Linked DNA regions of Homo sapiens: region 2 is linked to region 1. Evidence: promoter capture Hi-C in human tissues and cell types (Jung and others, 2019). All regions are on one chromosome and are shown on one strand. Each heading gives the region's core, a stretch centred on a gene start or on the middle of the fragment in contact. The rest is flanking DNA. Distances are from core to core; before and after follow the strand shown. Region 1 holds the start of PPP1R3C (protein phosphatase 1 regulatory subunit 3C). Region 2 overlaps HECTD2-AS1 (HECTD2 antisense RNA 1).

The links. The method cuts DNA at HindIII sites, captures the fragments that hold promoters and counts their contacts. A contact is called where the count stands out against the background at its distance.
Region 2: a contact is called between a fragment that was not itself captured here and the fragment with the promoter of PPP1R3C in region 1, in 3 of the 25 tissues and cell types used here (IMR-90 fibroblasts, aorta and bladder).

What each region holds. Positions count from the first base shown.
Region 1 is chr10:91,629,790-91,636,090 of GRCh38, forward strand. PPP1R3C (protein phosphatase 1 regulatory subunit 3C) reads right to left here and starts at 3,282. Exons shown (of 2, transcript NM_005398.7): 1 at 3,167-3,282; 2 at 1-1,077. The coding sequence starts at 3,180. The coding sequence ends at 138. RefSeq lists enhancers at 2,913-3,414, 3,415-3,914 and a silencer at 3,249-3,388. The HindIII fragment of the contact is 3,936 bases long and covers 1,934-5,869 here.
Region 2 is chr10:91,524,790-91,531,090 of GRCh38, forward strand. HECTD2-AS1 (HECTD2 antisense RNA 1) reads right to left here. Exons shown (of 5, transcript NR_024467.1): 3 at 239-360. Among named protein-coding and RNA genes, the nearest start is that of HECTD2-AS1, 84 kb to the right of the region's middle. The HindIII fragment of the contact is 4,109 bases long and covers 1,481-5,589 here.

The sequences.
Region 1 (6,301 bases), core at 2,032-4,531:
TTTCCATAGCCAGGTCTCAAAAGCTCAAATCTAAACCTACTGATGGAGTAGCAAAGGCTTCCTAAAATTGAGCAATACAGACCTAGGATTGCATGGGGGAATATGACAAGTCAAGACCAGTTACATTGTTGCTTAATTCATCGATAAGAGGCCAAGTTCTCCATTCTCCCCCAGCTCTGCCACTCTGGGAAGAGCCCACTAGCCAGCCTCGGACTGCCAAAGATTGTTGACTCTAACTCTGTCTTAGGAGACGTCTGGTGGAATGCACAGTCCTGGGGTGCCATCTGTGTCTGCACCCCATCAGGCTTCCATTGAACATGAACAATTCTATAATTCTGACCATCATTGTTGTCCCAAAAGACTTGCCCATTAGCATGGTAAGAAATGCAGAACTCAATTTTCTGCTCAGTTGGAATGACAGGGGGTAAGTCAATGGCAAATGAGAAGGTATCACTATCTGTGCCACCATACACATTTTTCATATAGACACAGTCTACGTCAGTGTAGTTTTTCCAAGAATCGAAAGTGATACGGATCTGAACTTTCTTCTCAAAACTCACATTTTTGACTTTAACAGTCCCTGTCACTGTTCGCTCTTGCAACGAGCAGTTCTCCAGACAGACAAAGTTCTTCTGAAAGTGGCTCCGGAAACTTAAGTAATCGGTTGAAGGCTGAGGGAAATCTAAAATCAAGTTTTTCTCCTCGTGGTGTTTTAAGGCAGAGGAGATATCATTAAGGTCCAAGAGATCAAACTGCAGATCCCACGCTGGTTCTTCTGGGAGGTCGGAGAAGACATGGATCGCAGTGAGAGAGAGGCCCTTGGAGTCAGCAAACACAACGCGCTTCTTGGCTTGGTTGTGTGAGCACTTCCAGTCATTCTGTGATTTGGCTTTGTGTTTTATATTGAGACATGATTTCAGGGGCTTTAATTTATTCACAAAATGTCGTCGTTGAAATTCATCGTACGGGCCCAGGAAACTCTTCACAGGTGGTGAATGTGCCAAGCAAAGCCTCATGGCCACATCCACGGGCATGACCGAACTTGTCAAAGGACGTGGATCTAAAACCTGGATCATTCTGGAATGCAAAAAGAAGAGGGATTATCACCTGGATCGGAAATGCTCTTCCCCAGTGCCAAATACATATGTACTATTTTTGTGCTGACTGAATTATAGCCAGTGCACTAGATATCAGGCAGGTGCTATCATATGTAGTAAAAGAGAACAGTATTAAGTGATCAGATCTTCTATGTCTACCTCTACCCTTGGCCGGCTAAAGGCTATTAATTGCTTAAAACACTTAGAGGGTGATGGGGGTCTCAGTTTCCCCATCTGAGAAATAAAAGGGTTCGATTTGATTATCTCCAAGGCAGCCTTGAGAACTGTGTGCTCTGTTCTGGACCAGTGGTCCTCAAACCTGTCTGGTCACTATGTCTAGGGAATTCATTTTCTTTCTTTCTTGTCTTTCCTCCTTTCCTCCTTCCCTCCTTCCTTCCTTTCTTCCTCTCTCTCTCTCTTTCTCTTTCTTCTTTCTTTCCAATTCCTGGGACTCAGAACTACTGAGGCAGAACTTCTGGGGCTAGGGCCAAGGGATGGGTATGTTCTTAAAGCTTCCCAGGTGATTCTAATGACCAGACAGGTTCAGGAGCCACAGTTCCAGACCCTCTGCTCCCTCTGGCTACGTTGGCTTATTTTGCTGCTAAATTGATTGACACTTCTCTGGTAAGGTAATTCACTTGAAAAAAAAAAAATAACATGCAACAGTTTTGAGAGTGAGAAGGCTAGAGAAGAAGTCAAAGAATCATCTTTGCACTTTGATTATCATGCTCTTATTTTTCACAAATAACCACTGAAATACAAGCCAACAATTCATATGCACTTAAAAACTATATAATTGATAATTCACCTAAAGAGATGCCCATGACAAGTCCACATTTAAGTGGAAAAACTGATTACCTGAAAGTTGGAGTGTTTTAAAATATACATTTTATATATACAAACTTATAAATATTGAAAAACTCTATAGGAAATACACCTTTCCTAATAATTTAATAATTATTATTTCTGGGTGATAGGATTATAGATTATCTATTTTCGTTTTTGTTCTTTTTTGGCATTTTCTAATAGACATTTATAAGTAGAAAGACAATAAAACCATTTAAAGTTTTAAACATGACTATGCTCAGCAATATTAAACCAAGAAGCATCTATAAAGAAGACTTTTCTCTGACCTTTAGCCCTCATCATATATTTCCAAGCTTATGGTATTAAGATTTTTTTCCCTATCTTAGCCTTACAAGTAAGAGGTGTGTGTATACTGTACACGACATTTCTCAGTCTGGCTTTAGTAACTCTCCTCACAGCAGCTCTAAACATGTATGCAAGTGGTCATTATCACAAAAGTGTGTAATAACACTCGCAGAATTTACTGTGTTAGCTCTGGGGTTTTTCTGGGAGATCTGCAAACTTAGAACAAACAAATGAAAGCTAAAGCTATATTTGTGGGTCTAATAATAGTTAATAGGCAGGATTTTTAGAGAAGTCTTCTGCTAAGCTATGTCTGGAGAAGCTATTTAAAGTAGTTTTATGGGAGGTTTTTTTTGGTTTTTTTGTTTTTTTTTTTTTACTTTTTGCATTTATAGAAAGACAGTTTTAGTTTGGGTGATTTCCTTGGAACTTTAAGTCCTGGACAAGAGTTAAAAGTAATCGTTTGCTCAAACTCTTGAGATTTTGCTATGGCAAACTGTGATAAGAAGGACGAATGAATGCAAACGTCGTCCTGTAATTTTTTTCCTCCAAGCTAAACCACCTAACCAGCAATGTCAGAGTGCTGTTCTCACCACTTCAGCTGCCCGAGTCTTTGGGACATTTGTGCAGGACCAAAAGAACAGCCGCATCCATGAGAAAATCCTAACTCAAGCTGATTCACGTTAAGATAATTTCTGCTTTAAGATGCTGATTACTAAAATAGGCTCTGCTTAAGAAATAGAGCCAAATTTCTACACCTCCAAGGCCTCTCGGTTGCCAGATTCAACTACGCAGTCAGTCCACTTGTCCTCCCCCTGGGGTGTCCATTTCCAGAGATGATAGAACTGAAACGCCCCCCAACTTCCCCACAGCTGCGCGTTCCCCTGTGTTCCTAGCGCGCAGAGTTGCAGCGAACCTACCTGGTGCAGCTCATTAGGCAGAGAGGCGGCGGACCCTAAAAGCCAGCACCCGCTGCCTGCACAAATTCGAACCACAGCTCCAGGCCTTGCCCCCGCGGCGGTCGCTGGGAGAGACTGAGGGCCCGGCGCCTAGAGGCCGCTTATCTGCTCCCAAGCACGTGACCCGATCCCTGGGACCAATCGCCGGGCCTCGAGCCCCAGGGCGCGACCAACCAGCGCCCAGCTGGGGCGCCAGCCCTCGCCCCGGCAACGTGATCGCCCCGGGGCGAGACGTGCAGAGAGCTATCTGGGCATCGCGGGGAGGTTCTGGGACTCCGCGGCCAGCTGGAACCAGCCGCGTAACGGGAACCCTGGGCTAGGGGCCGGGCAGGCACGTACCGCATGCAGCGGGCGCCGGCCAAGAGAGAGCGCAGCCAGCCTCGCCCAGGCGGGGCGCCAGTGCCTCAGGCTTGGGGCGGCTGTTACTTGGGAATAGCTTTGTGGGTCACTGCGGGTGAATCTGCACACAGAAGATGTGGCTCAAACCGAATGTGTATCGCATTTGAAATGTTTATATCGTTCATTACCCGGTGTATCCGCATTTCTCCCTCACCTTAGCCTGCGCGATCCCAAACTGGCTGCATGCTTTTCGATTAGTATGAGTTCACAGATGCACCACACAGTAGACAGCTGCCGGGAATTACCAACTTATCTAACAAATGTTGTTAGGAAAGCATACGAGCCCCATAAAACACCAAGGTGGCATTTAATTAAAAGACACTTCGTATTTCTGTCTATTCTTCAATTTTCTCCCCTGCGGGGAACACTAAAGCCGGAAGTGAAATGACCCTTTTCACACATACAGCCGGTCAAGAGGCAGCAGTCAACCCAAACCCCTTACTCAATTCTGACGTCCTTTGGCAGTGGTGTGGAAATCAAAATGTTAAAATAAAATTTAAAAAATCACGCCGTATGTTTCATGGGCCTTCTGAGCCACTCACTTTCGCTGAAGTTTCATTATTTTGATTAGTTTGAAGAATTTTTAGACCATCATTTACAACTGTAAAATTAAATGTCTAAGTCAAGTCTAAATTATTTTTATAAAACCCACATCCTAGTTTTGCTCCCCTAATTGAGCTATCCATTAGTCAATTAAAATATACAAAAATTCCTATGTCTTTTAAACAACTGTCAAACAGTGGAATTGTTAAAATTATTAGAGTGAAGAAAAAAATCACACTGAATATCACTGGGAAAGGGACTTCATGCCTGGGTTTTATTTTTGAAATGAAATATCTAACTAATGGCAGGTCTTCTAGCCCCTTTAGCTCAACCAAAACTAGCTGGAAGGTCTTTGGATTGACACTTACTAGCTACACGAATCTAGGCAAGTTCTAACCTCAGTTTCCTCATGTGTAAAACAGAGATAGTAACGTTCTGAAGATGAAGTAAGATGGTGCCAATGAACAGACTCAGCACGATGCCCAGTGCCTGTGTTCCACCCGGGCTAGTTCCCAAGTTTCTACTTGATCTCTCAGCTAGAGTTTTTACTCTATCACCTCAAGGCGCCTGGTGCCTGAGCTAAAATATTGAGAATAGCTGCTGCTTGTTGAGCCTTTACTCTGTGCCAAACACTATGTGCTATCAATTCAATCCTCACAACAACCCTATGTGATATGTCCAATTATTAATCCCATTTTAGAGAAAAGAAAACGGAGACACTGAATGGTCAGGAAATCTGCCCAGTGGATCACTTGAGGCCAGGAGTTCAAGACCAGCCTGGCCAACATGGTGAAACCCTATCTCTACTAAAAATACAAAAATTAGCCGGGCATGGTGGTGCACACCTGTACTCTCAGCTACTCTGGAGGCTGAGGCAGGAGAATCGCTTGAACCCGGGAGGCGGAGGTTGCAGTGAGCTGAGATTGCACCACTGCACTCCAGCCTGGGCAACAGAGCGAGACTCTATCTCGAAAACAAAAAACAAAAAAAAAACCTGCCCAGGTTCTCACAGGTAGAGCAGGGATTAGAGCCTGGCTGATACCAGAGCAATAACCGCTGCACCATATTGTCTTATTTTAATGACCCATCAATGGTTAGAATTATGGAGGTAGGAGGTGATAGGCATCAAACTCTTTATTTCACAGATGAGGAACTGAAAGCTTAGACAGGTCAAGCTGCTTGCCAGGGGCTGGCTAGGTCTGAGCCAAAACTAGAACCCTGGGTATTCTTTTCCTCTACCCATGATTATATGTTGAGCTAAATAGTAAATATTACCAGTTAAAACTATGGAGAAACATGAATAACAATTTATGGTGATCGCATTTTGAGGGAAAGGTATCCATGCATAGAAAACAGAATGTGCTCTACAGAAATGTGAACAGTTCATTTTGGAATGGTGAGATTATGAGTGATTAAAAATGTCTTCGTTGTTTTGCTGCTCTGTTGTTTTTCTTAATTTTTCTACAATGAACATACACGACCTAATTAAGAAATAATTTTTCAAGGGCGTTAAAACTCTGGGATTCAACTAACACATATAGCGTACTGCTAGGTGCCAAGAACCGTGGTGGAAATTTTCACATGCTTGTGCCATTTACTCACACCACCCTTTCAGCCTGTTCCATTCATACAGCTTTCTCTCCTGCCCCCTGGTGTTGACTAATGCCATAGAAGTCACTCTCCCTTTCAGCTCCTTCAAATGGAAGATTCAGGGAGACCATGCTTTCTCCTAAAAGGACTCAACACTCACTCAATAAACCTCTAAATTGGATGATCCAGGCTTTTCACTTCTGTCTCCTTCCCAGCTTTTGCTCCCCTTCATTATTGGATGAGAGAAACTAGGATGGAATCAGTGTTCTTAGTTGTAGGTTGCACCAATGAAGACAGAGTAGAAAGGAATCGTGGGGAGTTGTACTATTATTCGTAGGATTTCTCCCACTGTGGTTTGGCAGCATCTAAACATTGCTTGGTCCTACCCATCTTAACAATCAATCTATCAGCAGGAAATTATTGAGCTATGCAGTAGTTCCAGCTCCATGCCAGGGGTTACAAAGTCTGAGCAGTCATAATCCTTTGACCTTGAGGAGGTTACAATCATTATTACAGAAAAACAAATTCATAGAATACCCAGCAGACATTTTAAGAAGCTACTAA
Region 2 (6,301 bases), core at 2,285-4,784, 100 kb before region 1:
TTCAAGCCTTGTTCTTCTCTCTCGTTCTCTGGGAATCTCTGGCCTGCCTGAGCCTAGGTATAGTGGGTACTTGAGCTTCCAGGCAGTTCTGATCAGTGCCCCACCCCCACCCCGAAAGACCTGCCATTGCATCTGGAGAGGTAAGTGAGGAGAGGAGAGAAGCTTCAGTAGGCCAACTAAAGTAACAGATGCCCAAATTTCAGCGGCTTTGTATAGTAGAAGTTCATTTCTAACTCACTTAACAGTTCTGGAAAGATGTTCAGGTCAGCGAGGCATCTCTCCTTCTCGGGATCACCAGGCTCCTTCCATCTGGTGGCTCCACCATCCCCTAGGGCACCGTTGGAGTCCATATTCAGCGGGCTGAAGGAGAAAGCAAGATGGATTCACTCCAAGTATTAGGAGTCAATACTTGTGAATGGAAAGGGAGAAGAAACAGAATTGGGCAGAAGGAGAAGTCAAGCCGTGACACAGTCCTGACAAACCAACGGCCAACCCAGTGGGGACCTCTACAGTGGATGTTACCCATTGGTGGTGTCCTTTATTGAGCCAAAATAGCCGCGCCTCAAGTGGTCCCCAGAGGTAGGAGGCTCCTGGAAGGGTGTGACATTAGGCAAAGTGGATGAGGCTCTGTAGCTGAGGCCGGCCCTGACGGAGGTGATGGCAGGAGACTGTCTACTGACTGCACTTGCTGCAGCAAGGCCCATCTGGAGGCATACCTGCACATCTACCACACACAGCCACACCTCACTGTGAAGGAGTCTGGAAAATTAGTCCAGCTGTTATCTAAGAGGAGGGGAAAGAGATTTGAGTGACAGCTAGCAGTCAGGCAAGATCTTCTCCAAACTGATTTGACAAAAGAGCCCTGTACTTGGGAGTTGAATGCTATAGAAGACAGTTTGCTCTTCAGTTAGCCTTGTGTTGACTCCATCTATTAGAACCCTGCGCGGAGCAGGGGTGATGGATACCAGGTACCTAACCCTAGCAACACTGCCTGTGAAGTGCCTAGACAGAAGGTGCCTGATCAACGTGGCTTCTGTCTCCAGATTTTGTTGCTGAATTGGGCTTCTTTGAGAGTATGAACAGCCCCAACCAGAGCCCACCTAATCAGTGCTCAGTGATTTATTAAGTAAAAGTTACACAACTGCCCTTGTTTATTATGCATTGACCTCTGAGGTGCCAAGAGCCTATGATCACTTTCCTGGTCCAAGGAGATCTAGGAATAAATCCCCCACTTTGTACCAAGTGACCTACTTTTCTTACTCAACTGTCACTTCTGAGGTTCCAGTGGTCAAATGAAAAGTTGGGAAGCTCTCTGTGCACGTCACAGCTGAGGATGCAGCTGCCAAGCTCTCCCTGCTCTGACCCTTCAAAGGAGGGCATTGGGAAATTCAAACCAAACACAAATCGTGGCCACCCAGGGAGACTGCCTGGGTTATTGCTCTGTTATCTAGAACCACAAGGGACCAAGATTGGGGTACCAAACCCCACACTGGTGATTCTGAGCAGGGAGCTTGGCAGGCTGCCAGCTGAGGTGGATGAGGAGCAAGCAGGTTGCAAAGGAAGTCCCCCCAGGATGGGCAAATCTGGGCCCACCCATCTTCTGCCTGCCACCCCTCAGTGGAAGCCTGGCAGAGAGTGGATGGCTGTCAGAAGATGCTGATGGCCCTGTGGCAAGCCCCAGCATGTTCCCGTTAAAGATCAAAGGAACCATCACAGAACTGGAGAGAGAAGACCATCTTTTGCTCAGGCCCTAGCTCATCCTGTGACCTTGGACAAGTAACCTCACAGAGCCTCCATGATTCATCCATTAAGTAGGGTGAGTATATGTAGTCTACCTCCTTTCTGGCACTTTAAATCCTTGAGTCCATGGGCTCCCAGGGTCTGTGTACATCCTCCTGGAAGTTAATAGCTTTTCCTGTCGTTTTTCTTTTTGATTTCAATAACCTAAAAAGATTTCCACACACCAACTTTGGTTCCCCCAGAGGACCATGTTATATGGAGAACTGGGTTAGTTAGTTCCCGGTCACCCAGAATCACAAGATGTGTCGTGGTTTCACGGTTTCAGACGCAGCATTTGTAAGCATGCCAAACAAATGAATGAAGGTGGGCTTGTTTCCTACGGCTGCTATAACAAATTACTACAAATTCAGAGGCTTAAAACCATACAAATTTATTATCCCACAGTTCTGGAGATGAAAAGTGCAAAATAGGTCTTACTGGGCTAAAATCACGGTGTCAGAAGGGCTGCGTCCCTTTTGGAGGCTCTAGGGGAGAAACAGCTTCCTGCCTTTTCCAGCTTCCAGATGCTGCCCACTGGCCTTGGCTGGTGACCCCTTTCCTCATCTTCAAAGCCACAGGGTGTCATCAACTCTCCTGCCTCCCTCTTTCACTCACAAGGGCCTCTGTGATTACCTGGGGCCCATTCAGATAATCCAGAATAATTTACCCATCTCAAAATCCTTCATTCAATCATATCGGCAGAGTCCCACTTGCCATGTAAGGTAACATTCACAGCTTCGTGAGACTGGGGCATGAACATCTTTGGGGGCCAGTATTTTTCCTACCACAGAAAGATTTTTATTATCTGAATAGTTGAATTGAAGACAAAATGGACATAATAATAAGGAATGGTCAGAATGGCATACTGAGTCTTTCCCATGTATTCACTGATTTTCTACAACAGTACAACTATCATTCCTGTGATTTTTAAAATGTAAATGCTATTTAAAGTATTTGAAAACAATTTCAGATGTTCTGCTCTTCCCAATACAGAAATAATATTTAAAATGAAAGAAAAGCTTTATATGCTTCATGGTTTCTTCCCTTTTCTAGATTTCCCAATGCATTAAGATGTCTTATTAAAAGGAATAAAATAGATCACATGTACAGACATGGACAAATGTCCAAAATACACAGTTAAGTATAAAAAGCAACCTGCAAATCAGCATGTGTACTGTGATCTCATCTTCATAAGATAATAGATTTATATGTTTGTTTCTATGGAGAAAATACCCACAAGAATATAAGCCAAACGGTTAACCACATTATCCTGGGGGCTGAGGAAGCAGGGGGAAGGCAGCAGTAGGCTTCCTGAGCCATCATGCCTGCAATGTAATATATAGAATAAGCTCATATTATTTTTTATAACCAGGAAAATATTAGGACAGTGCTTCTCTGTGTTTAAAGACTAAGGGGATCTTCCAAAATCCCCTTTTCGTTGATGGAGAATAGCATCAATCAGAATTTCAGAATTCTGCCCAACCAATACGAGCCTTAGGGCCTCGCCTCTAAGTGCTTCCTATTAGCTCCTTTCCAGTTCCTCCTTAGAAATGTGCAGATATGCCACCTGCCATTGCAATCACAGGGAATGTAGGTCAGGTAATTAGTAACCAGACTTTGTTTTGGAAAACACTCAGTACATGCCAGTAAAATAGGTCAGTTCCTACTCCTCGGGGCAGAACCCCCGAGCTTTCAAGAGGGAGGGACCCTGCAGGTCACTGAACATAAGCCCCCATTGTCATACCCTGAGGCCCAGAACTAGGTCACCAGCTAGCAAGCAGCAGAGCTTGGATTCAAGGCAGATGCGTGGGACTCCCAAAGTCACATTCTTCCCACTCGGCTATTCTGTGGTCAACTACTGAATAAGATCCTTCCTGGGATTCCAATCTGGATTCCTCAGAGTTTGCTGGGCCCAGATGTGCAGTAATGGCCCGCTCATGCCTCTCTTCACCTTGGGCTGGGACACTGGGGATTGTGGGGAGTGATGGGGAGCATTTAGCGGTTAGCTCAGAGATGCATGTGTAACAAATGGATCAAAAGTTTGAGGGGCTGGGCTGTTCCCATTGCAAAGCCACTTCATCTTTGTTAACGCTGTAGTCTTGACAATTTCTTAGGGAGCCTTGGTTCCCTAAAGTTTTACAACCAGGCCTTTCTCCTGACAGAACTGAATGCGATATGATTCATGGACCTCAGAATGGTTCTGGCCAATGAGAACATGGGTGCAGACAAATCACTGAGGTTGTTTACTTCACCCACCCAGCACCAGGTGAGCTGGAAGGGTCACAGAAAAAGCCCGAGATCCACCCAGAGTCTCAGGATAGGGCATTTGCCTGGGGCTCACAAAGACCTGGAGTCTGTGCAGAAAGGCAGTCCAGCTGATAACCAGCCTGGAGGCACCACCTGGCACTTTCTTGCAGTCCAGCTGATAACCAGCCTGGAGGCACCACCTGGCACTTTCTTATCATACCCTTTGCTGGTGTTGGTGCAGCCACCATACTCTCCCCCAACCATGAAAGGGCATCCAGCACAGGATGATGGGGACATAGAGCATTAGTGAGCAGCACAGTATTGCTTCTGTGTGACACCCCAAGGGGCCAGAAAAAAAACAGGCTTTCACTACTTATGAACAAAGTCTGTCCCCAGGAAGTCATCAAGCTTTGTCTCCAATGAACTCGAATCCCAGTGACACCATATGGATCCAGCCACTGCACTGCTTCATTCTCTTGAAAGCTGGAAGCATGTGCTTTCTTCTACAGGGATGAAATGAATAAGAACTAGAGCACCTATTCAGATTCAGCCTCCTCTCACAACCAAAGCACCTCCTCCAGAGCTGTCTAGAGTTTTGCTCTCATCAGTTCCACCTTTCAAGGACACAACAATGGGGGAAACAATCAGATCATCTCTGTACCAAAAGGCTGGTCCTTCCATCCCACCCAAGAGCACAGAGAAGGCCTTGAAAAAGGAGGCCTCCCACTCCCTCACTGGCTAAAAAGCCAGTTTTGATAAACGGGGAGACAGTCCCCACCCAGGTCTTCTACCTAAAATCCTATTTGTGATGGCAGTGTTGGAGTGTTGGGAGGATACAAGACCAGGTCTGGGACTTCAGGAGGTGTTATTTTTCAATGGAAGGATTGTGTTCCTTCTGAGCTTCTATATGCAGATGCAAAGGGGCTATGGCGAAGTCATTTTTGTGCCACTGAAAGTTGATTTGTTGAAGGTCTTCTCTTTCTTGCCTCTTACTGTGGCTGGCTTTGAGGAAGGATGGAACCCATAGAACCAGAGACCCTCTAGGCTGAGTTAGAACTCAGGGACCACCCAGGAGGGAACATTCATACCACCGGAAACTTTGTAAGCAAGATTGCAAAGGAGATGGATGATCTTAGGGCAAATAAAGCCCATAAAGATCTGGTCACCTTTTCAGGAGAGTAACTGCTTTTGCTGCACCAGATTTTCCATTTAGCCATCCAGGATATGCGAGAAAACACAAAAAGGCAAGTGGTTCCCTGGGTCCCCAGCCACCTTGCCAGCCTTCCCCCTCCCTCTCCAGCCCTGGAGTGGGATGAAGCATCACAGCATTCCCTTCCCTTCCCTTTCCTTCCCAAGGTTTGAAGATGACCTGGTCTAGGGGAGTGGACTACGGGATGAACTAAACTAGTCCAGGGCCCTGAGTAGGTGCAGAGAAGGGTGTGTAGAAGAGAAGCAGGAGCCTGGGGAACACTGCTTGACTGACTCACCTGAGGCATTCCAGTGCACTGGCAGACAGGCCCCATGCTGATGGAACTGTCCTCAAATGAGGCCTCTAGACAAAGAGCCTTTCATTCCTTTCTGTAGTCTGAATTTTCTTTTTTTTTGAGATGGAGTTTTGCTCTTGTTGCCCAGGCTGGAGTGCAATGGTATGATCTTGGCTCACTGCAACCTCCGCCTCCTGGGTTCAAGCGATTCTTCTGTCTCAGCCTCCCGAGTAGCTGGGATTACAAGCACGGGCCACCACGCCCGGCTGATTTTTGTATTTTTAGTGGAGATGGGGTTTCATCATGTTGGCCAGGCTGGTCTCAAACTCCTGACCTCACGTGATCCGCCCATCTCAGCCTCCCAAAGTGCTGGGATTACAGGCGTGAGCCACTGTACCCAGCTGAACTTTCTAATACATCACTGTGAGCCTACAGTAGAGAACTGAGTGAATTTTCCTTGTGATTTTGTGTGTACATGCACTATCCACAGAAGGAGAATAGAGAGGAAGATTGCTCAGCCCTCACATCAGTTTTATGGATGGCACAGGCAGGAACAAAGAGTCTTTCTGGGACCATGATCAGCTAAACACAGAAAGCAGGTGGGAGAGGAGCTGCTTCATTGAAATGAGGGTGAGGGTTTCAGGGCTCCTACCACCCAGCTTCTTACTTCTCTCATGGCCTCTTTGCAGAACTTCAGACCTTCTAGAGCCCTAATAAGTAGAAAAAGTCCCCCATCTAATCCAGCTCCTCAGTGTGAGGCTGCAGGAGGAGCCTAAGGGGAGGAGAGCATG